Linked DNA regions of Homo sapiens: region 2 is linked to region 1. Evidence: promoter capture Hi-C in 16 types of primary human blood cells and fetal thymus (Javierre and others, 2016). All regions are on one chromosome and are shown on one strand. Each heading gives the region's core, a stretch centred on a gene start or on the middle of the fragment in contact. The rest is flanking DNA. Distances are from core to core; before and after follow the strand shown.

Region 1 (4,378 bases), core at 559-3,058:
TGAAAAGAAAAATCTTGCAGACTTTGCTCCTATTTGGGGATAAGCAGGGGACTAGTGGATAGAAGAAGGTGCTTTCTCAAGTCAGTGACAGAGGTTGGGCCATGCCATCTTTTCAGAGCCAGTGCTGCCCTCTGAGGGCTTCAGCTCAAAGAGGGGAGGAAGGCAAATGAACAGAAAATGAGGCTACAGAGTGGTGGGTATGAATTTTCACGGAAGACTGGGACTGGGGAGAAAGCAACGAGCTGTGCCAGAAGGAGCCAGAAAGGTTTCAGAAAGGATGTTCTGTTGGGGATGCTATTCCAGGAGGAGGGACCAGCTGTCATCAAGTGTCTGCTGGGGGCCTTTGGTGTGAGCTACTGGGGACATGGGATGGGAAAGTGCCCCTACTCTAGACAAAGCCTAGAGGTGTCATCATCTGCAACTATTAAGTTGAAGCATATGAAAGAGCTGACATGTGACAACTTTGGCCCTTTTACAAAAACGGCAATTTTGTATGGTTCAACCTGATACCAATTCCAGATAAAATGGAAATGCCTCAAATTCTAACCTTTGTTCCGTATAACAACACGTGGAATCCCTGAGAGTTAATGGAATCCCTGGGGCATTTCTAAAATAGACCAATGCCTGGGCGAGATCCCTTAAATCCTGGTTTCTGGGAGTGGGGCCTTCTGCAGGGGGCCTAGCCTCCTGGTCTCCATTATTTCATGGGATCCCAGTTCCTGGTCTATCCATATTGAGGGGACGAGAAGCAGCCGGGATAACGGAGGAGGCAGGGGTTCTTGCAGTGGCTACTCCTCTCTAGGCCTCCTGGAGGGAGCTGATCATGAGAGATCCTCACTGTAAGGGGGATGCAGGCAGCCCAGGGGCCGTCTGAGCACCAAATGACATCATGTACTTGAAGCACCAGCACAAAGTTGTCTCCCTCATAGTGAATGAATGTAAGCAGTGGAATTCGACTCGCGGGTTTTAACCCCCATGGGCCAGCGTCCTTCCCTCCCAATTGTCCTGCTAGAAGAAAACGTTTCGCTCTCTCTCGGGTATCCAGCTAATCGTTAAGGCAAACAGCAGCGCCCCTTTTCCTTTCATCTCTTGCCCCATTTCTGCACCTACAGCCTCACACCTTCTTCCCGGGACACAGCACTGCCAGGAGCCCATCCTGGTTCAGTTCAGTACCCAGGAGGAATCCCTCGGGCCGACTCCCAGGACTTTGTTTCTTGGACTTCACCACCGCCGCCTCCCCAGCACAGCTCCCGCAGCCCGCACCCGCCCACAGGGTCTCCGCGACCCTAGAGCTTAGGGAAGAATTGCCGAGGGGCGGGGGGTCCCTCATGCGCATGGAAGGGACGTACGCCCCAGGCCTCCACCTTCCTCCTGACCCCGGGGATTCTTGGACGTCGATTCTCCGTCTCGTAGGGGCGAGGGCCCTGGGTTCGCAGTCAGACGCGGGCCCCTCTCAAATCTAGTGGCCTGGTTTTATTGAGTGGGGGAAGGCACATATTTTCCAAGATTAACTGCCCCGCAACAGGGAATTTCGCAGGATTTCAGTATTTTCGACTCCCCAGGTGACGCCAAGAGGGTGGGTTCCACTGTGCACGGTGGGGAAACTGAGGCTCGGAGGGGACAAGGAAGGTACTCGAGGTCACGCGGCTCCTCCGGCGGGCGGGAACGCAGGACGCGGAGTTGGGGCGCGGGCTGTGCGCGCCCAGGTTCGCGGCTCCCGGGGCTCGGCTGTCGCAGCGCGGTCGCCGCCGAGGACCACGGTCGGGGCGCGGGCGGGCTCCAGTGCGCAGGCGCGGCGGGCGGGAGGGGACGCGCTCCGGGCGCGCGCGCGGGGCAGCCGGCGCCCCAACTCCGCCCGCCCCGCGCCCCGCGCCCCGGCGCCTCGCCGCCCGCCGCCCGCCCGCCCCGGCGCCGCCGCCCGCGCCCCGGCGCCCCGGGCCGGCGAGGGGCGCGCCCGCGGCCGCGGCCGCTGCATGGCGCTGAGATGGCGGGGGCGCCGCGCGGCGGAGGCGGCGGCGGAGGCGGCGCGGGCGAGCCCGGGGGCGCCGAGCGGGCGGCCGGGACAAGCCGCCGGCGCGGGCTCCGGGCGTGCGACGAGGAGTTCGCTTGCCCAGAGCTGGAGGCGCTGTTCCGCGGCTACACGCTGCGGCTGGAGCAGGCGGCCACGCTGAAGGCGCTGGCCGTTCTCAGCCTGCTGGCGGGCGCGCTGGCGCTGGCCGAGCTGCTGGGCGCGCCGGGGCCCGCGCCCGGCCTGGCCAAGGGCTCACACCCGGTGCACTGCGTCCTCTTCCTGGCGCTGCTCGTGGTAACCAACGTCCGGTCCCTGCAGGTGCCCCAGCTGCAGCAGGTCGGCCAGCTGGCGCTGCTCTTCAGCCTCACCTTCGCGCTGCTCTGCTGTCCTTTCGCGCTGGGCGGCCCCGCCCGGGGTTCCGCCGGGGCCGCTGGGGGGCCAGCGACCGCCGAACAAGGGGTTTGGCAGCTCCTTTTGGTCACCTTCGTGTCCTATGCCTTGCTGCCCGTGCGCAGCCTGCTGGCCATAGGCTTTGGGCTCGTGGTGGCTGCGTCGCACTTGCTGGTCACAGCCACCTTGGTCCCCGCCAAGCGCCCACGTCTCTGGAGGACGGTAAGTGCAGCCGCGCACCCCTCATCTGGTCTCGGACACACTTGCTGGGACGATGCTGGGAATGCCCGGAGTCGGGCGCGCTTTTTCCTATGCGGCGGGTGGGGACACTGAGGCTCCGAGTGGGGGTGTGTTCAAGGTCACTCCTACGAGTTGGGGACGCAGTCGGGGCTGGCACCCTCCGGCCAGGGCTCTCTTCAGAGTTACAATCCACGAAGCGCCCCTGGCGTGAAGTGTGGAGAGGGGAGACAGGTGTGGAGAGAGAAAGGTTTGGCCAAGGTCAGGGAGCTGATGAGCGGCCAGACGGCGGCCAGAGGGGTCCGCCGGTCTTTTGCCGCACCCATCCCCACAGAGGGACTGAAAGTGGGCGAGGAGAGCAGACCCCCAGGGCAAGCTCCAAGGCCGGCTCTGCGCGCAGCGCTGGGCTCTTCCCCTGCGCACCTAGAGCGCGTGCTGGGCTCGCCTCCCAACCCTGCGGACCCGAGGGTGGTATATGGGTGGTGGGAAAGGACTTCGGCTCTTCCAGCCTTGCTGGCCACCCTTCTGTGGACATGCCTCCGGCCCAGAAAGAGTGGGGTTTGCCAAGGTCAAACACAGTCTAGTCCCTGCCGCTGCCACTCGGCGGTTGCCCTGACCCTGCCTTTTCTGCGCCCGAACTTTGTCACTGTCTTCCCAGTCGGGCGGGCGAGATGGTTGCAAGGACGGGGACGCTGTCTGCCTCCCGCGGACTCTTCCTGGGCCCTGGAGGAGCCTGCTCTTCCAACTGCCCGGAGGTGGACGTGGACCAGAGGTCTTTGCCCCACGGCGGGGCTTTGAGAGCTTCCCCTTGTGCCCATCTCCAACGGGCCGCAGGGATGGGGCTGGGGAGTTGGGGGGTGGGGAGATTTGGAAGACCCTGAGGAGGGTTTTGTTTCTGCCTCTAGCTGCAGTTTAGCAGGGGGATGGTATGACTCAAATGGAGTGGGGGAGCCCATCTCACGAAAGGAAGCAGTGGTGGGAGCAAACTGGGGAGAGGTAAGGGGTCGGAGGGGAAGCTGAATCCAGAGAGATTAGGGAAGAATAACTGGGGGGCGGTGGTAAGGAGTCCCACAGCCCGGCCCCGGGGGACCAGCACCCAAGGATCTAAGGAGGCATCCTTAGACTGTGATGCCAGGGGCAGCACACAGTCAGAGGAGCCATGAGATGCTCAACCTGGCACAGGGATAGACACATCACTGGACTTGTGTCTTAGGGTCAGAGAGAGACCACCATGTGCTCAACCCGTGGGCAGGGGCGGGAGGGAAGAAGGCAGGAGTACATGGAGAATTGTCAAAGAGGGCGTCGGAGGAAGAGAGGAAGAGAGGTAGAGGTGAAGGGCAGAGGCACAAAAGGATGGCTAAAGGCTGAGGAAAGGGGAAAGGAGCCAGAGGACTTCATGTCCTGGAGGGGAAGGAGGCTCTTCCACAGCCTCCTGTGGGCAGCACGTGGGCCTTGCCTTATCAGTCTCAGGGGGCATTCCTGTATCTCCTACTGCCTCCACCCCCCATCTGTCTGTGTTTAGCCTGGGCCTCATGCTGGCCCCCACAGCCAGACCCGCAACCGCAAGACGGCCTCCCCAATCTGACCAGATGCCAGGGCAGCTTGGGAATAGGGAGGGGCTGAGCTTGGTCCCTGGGCAGGCCCAGGGATCCCAACCACACTGCATTCTCTCTTATTACACCAGGGAGTCAGCTGGTGTAATAAAAGGCTGCGTTATTGTCTTTCTCTTTTAAAATAAAG
Region 2 (4,110 bases), core at 44-2,543, 280 kb before region 1:
AGTGTGGAGCCGTAGGGCGGGAGAGGCCATGTGAGTTGGGGGTCCAGGGAATCAGTGCCTGGTGGAGGATGGGACTAGCCACAGTAGATCAGGGAGTGGGAAGCAGAGGGCAGGCACTGCAAGGAGAGCAAGGCGGACTGCTAGCGCTGTGGTGCCAGTAGCGGGGGCAGGTGGCACCTGCAGCCTCCTAGCCCATGGCTCATGGGGGTGTGAAGGGGCTGATGGGGAAGCCCAGTTAAGCTGCAAGCTGGGGGAGCACTGTGCAGGGCATGGGAGGGAGATACCCTCAGATCAAAGGCTCCTGGCATTTAGAGAGGCCACATTCCCCCTTGCACATGTGTGTGTGAGCCTGGAGCTGGGTGGTATCATGTGTGCTTTTACACGATGTGCCTCAAGTTGGGAAGTCAAAGGTCTTTATGAATTGAGCTTATGAAAAACGTTGGCAGTACAGGGGAAAGTGTGTGTAGATGGGCTCTTTGGTATGCCCCCTCTGACCCTCCCAACATGGGTGACCCGGAGCCCGGCTATTTAACTTCTCTGAGTCTCAGTTAAATAGAGACCCTTGTAACATTTCACAGGGCATGGTGACATTTAATGGTGTCTGTGATAGTCCCTGGCATGTGGCCTGGCTGTGTCCCCAGCGATGGTGACAGTGTTCCTGGCAGCAAGGCCAGTGCGTTCAGTGTTGTTGCAGTGGCTTTACATGTCATTCCAAGTTTCCTGAGGAAACTCCATAGGAGTGTCTTAGGTGAATCCTTTGTTAATCCTGAAACAATGTTCTTGTGGAAACAGTGCAGAGTGCAGGCAAAGAACATGGAAGGTAAGGAAGACTTACAAACTGAGGGGTTCCCAGAAGCATGGTGGTCACTTACCTTATTTCCAAGGTTGTTGCACCTGGGACAGTGCTTTGTACCTAGTGGATGCACCATAGATATTTGTTAAACCAGCGTATACTAAGCAAGTGTGTTTGATATTTGTTAACCGTTTGGGGAACTCACATTGCAGGAAAAGCTTCAGGAGCTGAAGCTGCATGTGGTTGATGGTGGGATCCCTGCTCAGACATAGCACAGAGCTCAGCCCACGGAATGTATTTGGAGACTGCCCGGTGAAAGGGAAACCTAAAAATATGTGCGGACAGCCTCATTACTCAAATATCAACAAATACCAAGTTGCAGTCCTGGAAGAAGAGAATCTCATAAGCTTGAGCAGTAGTCCAAGAGGCATTTTAATAACACCTCCTGATTTTCCCGCAGCATATGGTCCTGGTAATTAGCACAGCTCCACATGGCTTCCCCTTGCTATAAGCCGGTGACATGACGCAAGAGAAATCAGCAGGACATTGCAGTTTATTTTGACTTAGAATGCATGCAGCTACATATGGCTTTAATAAGCTTTGAATTAATAATCCCTTTACCTCATTAATGTTTTTAAAGCAGGCTGTTCTGGTCTTTCCTGAAAGATAGGAAGACCAAAAATGTGGGATCAAAGCAGCTTTGCTGTAGTCCCAGTGCAGCTTTGCTCTGGTCCCCACGCATCTCAGGTCTCTAGAATGTCCGGTGTGCATCTCCACTGGGCACTAACTAGTGAATCTGTTGGCCTAGAGGGAAGTCTCTGATGGCCACCAGGCTCTGTCCCAGCCCGCGTCTTGATTAGCGTGTTTATCATAGCAAGGGGATTCATGAAATCTGCAGATAACATGGTGAAAGACCATTTATTTAGAGTCAAAATCTAAAATTATCTTGCCAACCTGGACAAATATCTCAGGATAAAATCTGTGAGGGAAAACTTTGAGGACTTTGATTGGGACCATTTGGCTTCAGAAAGTGTGAAAAGACTTGCTGTTAGAGAAAAGTGTTAGGCCAGTGGGATGCAGCTTTAAGAGAAGCCTGTGTCTTATACAAGGCAGACTCCATGGGGGTGTTGTGCATCATTCTGGGCAGCACTGTGTCTGGGAGATGTAAATCAGGAGGAGCGAGGACTGATGAGACAGACAAAAAAGAAAACCCATCCCAGCACTTTGGGAGGCCAAGGTATGCGGATCACAAGGTCAAGAGATCAAGACCATCCTGGCCAACAAGGTGAAACCTAGTCTCTACTAATACTACAAAAATTAGCTGGGCATGGTGGTGTGCACCTGTAGTCCCAGCTACTCAGGAGGCTGAGGCAGGAGAATCGCTTGAACCCGGGAGGCAGAGGTTGCATTGAACCGGGATTGCGCCACTGAACTCCAGCCTGGCAACAGAGCGAGACTCCATCTCAAAAAGAAAAGAAAAGAAAACCCAAAGCTTCTGGACACATCAACCCATCAACCTCTTTCTTCTCCTTGTCTCCTCAATGCCTGCCTAGGAGGAAACATCCCTGAAAGGGGTTTAAGCTTCCAATTGGTTGGTCTATTAGCTGTTCTGTTGATGAGAACACATTGCTGGTGGGAGCAGGCAGAGGATGGGGTGTCCACTCTTTAGGAGAGTCTTCCAGGGTTTCTAGAGAGAAAGCTGGGGTTTTATGGGAGCGTGCAATGGGGCTCAAGGACAATGGGAGGAGCTGAGTGCTGCCTGAGGTAGTGCCCTGGCCCTATAATTCACCTGTCAGAGCCTTGAGAAAGTTTCTGGTGCTCCCTGAGCTTGAGTTTTCTCCTCTGTACTGTGTGACATCCCAGTACCATTGTGAAAGTAAAAGAAGATCAGGGACACTGATCAGGACAACTGTAGAGTCCTGTGCCAGGGAAAGGGTCATTTTTATATTCCCAAGGTATTAAGATGGTAGCTGGGAGTAGATTCACCCAAGCTTTGTCTTCAGCCAACTTCCACCTCCCAGGAGGTTGCCAGGGGAGATATGCACAGTCAGCAAAAACAGAAGAAGAATCTCTTTATTGCTTCCTGGGGTTTTGTCCTAAACTAATGTAGTTTTATAGTGAGTTGGTCTCCTATTCTCCAGGTTGGATGTAGCCTGGGACTATGACCCAGGACAATCTCCACCCCTCTCCTTTAAGCTCACACTGGAGACTTGGACCTCCACATCTCATTACTCTGCTGGAAGAAGCAGCCAGCTCCAGGACTGCATGGGCCAGAGAGAAAAAGCAATACAAAAAAGAGAGCAGAGGATATCACAGAAAAATGGCAAAGTTGGGGACTTCAGGGCTCTGTCCCTCCAGAAAATCAACTAATGAGCTAGTCAGAATGTCAGAAACAGTGTTGGCAGAACTCTGGAATCTAGTGAAAAAATTTGGAAGGCTTGGTAAAGAAAGAAGCAGTGTCTGGGTGTGGCAGCTCACACCTGTAGTCCCAGCACTTTGGGAGGCAGAAGTGGGAGGACTGCTTGAAGCCAGGAGTGTAAGATTAGCCTAGGCAACAAAGGGAGACCTCGGCTCTACAAATTTTTTTTTTAAAATTAGCTGTGTGTGGTGGCATGCACCTGTAGCCCTAGCTACTCAGGAGGCTGAGGCAGGAGGATCACTTGAGCCCAGGAGTTTAAGGTATAGTGAGCTATAAGTGAGTCACTGCACTCTAGCCTGGATGACAGAGTGAGACTTTGTCAAAAAAAAAAAGCAGCCAGCTGCACTTCAAATTGCATGCCTATCGTCCTCCACGTCCCAGACTGGCAGAGGTTATGAGGATAGCAGCCCACATTCCTGGTGCAGGTTAACAAGGCCAGAGGGAGCAACATAGACCTTATCCTGAAAGAATTGTGGTTGTAGGCTTTAGCCTGTCTTAAATATTGGTTGTTCCTTAATTCATCTATCATTGCCTTCTTTTGACATTAATTTTTTCTAGAGTACTATTTGAAAAATGATATGCAGGCAATTTTAGCTTAATTTAATCATTCCACATTATTTACATTTATCAAAGCATCACGTTGTGTCCCATAAATCTATACAAGAATGATTTGCTAACTAAAAATATTAAAAAAATTAAAAGACATAGAGAAAGGAATTAGCGAAATGTCAGAAGTTATTCCTTACTAGTAATTACTTTAAATGTAAGTGGATTTAATTCTCTAATTAAATGATAGAGACTGCCAGAATGAATTAAAAAACCATGATGCATCTATATGTTATCTACTAGAGACTCACTTTAGATCCAAAAACAGATTTCAAGTGAAAGGATGGAGAGT

The links. Contacts are between HindIII fragments. The CHiCAGO score rates a contact against its expected background, and 5 or more counts as called.
Region 2: a fragment that was not itself captured here is called in contact with the fragment with the promoter of ADCY1 in region 1 in 1 of 17 cell types (M1 macrophages); the score reaches 7.7 in M1 macrophages.

Annotation. Positions count from the first base shown.
Region 1 is chr7:45,572,560-45,576,937 of GRCh38, forward strand. ADCY1 (adenylate cyclase 1) reads left to right here and starts at 1,809. Exons shown (of 20, transcript NM_021116.4): 1 at 1,809-2,623. The coding sequence starts at 1,985. RefSeq lists an enhancer at 823-1,383 and a silencer at 2,195-2,294. The HindIII fragment of the contact is 15,544 bases long and covers 1-4,378 here.
Region 2 is chr7:45,294,105-45,298,214 of GRCh38, forward strand. No RefSeq gene overlaps it. Among named protein-coding and RNA genes, the nearest start is that of RAMP3, 140 kb to the left of the region's middle. The HindIII fragment of the contact is 191 bases long and covers 1,199-1,389 here.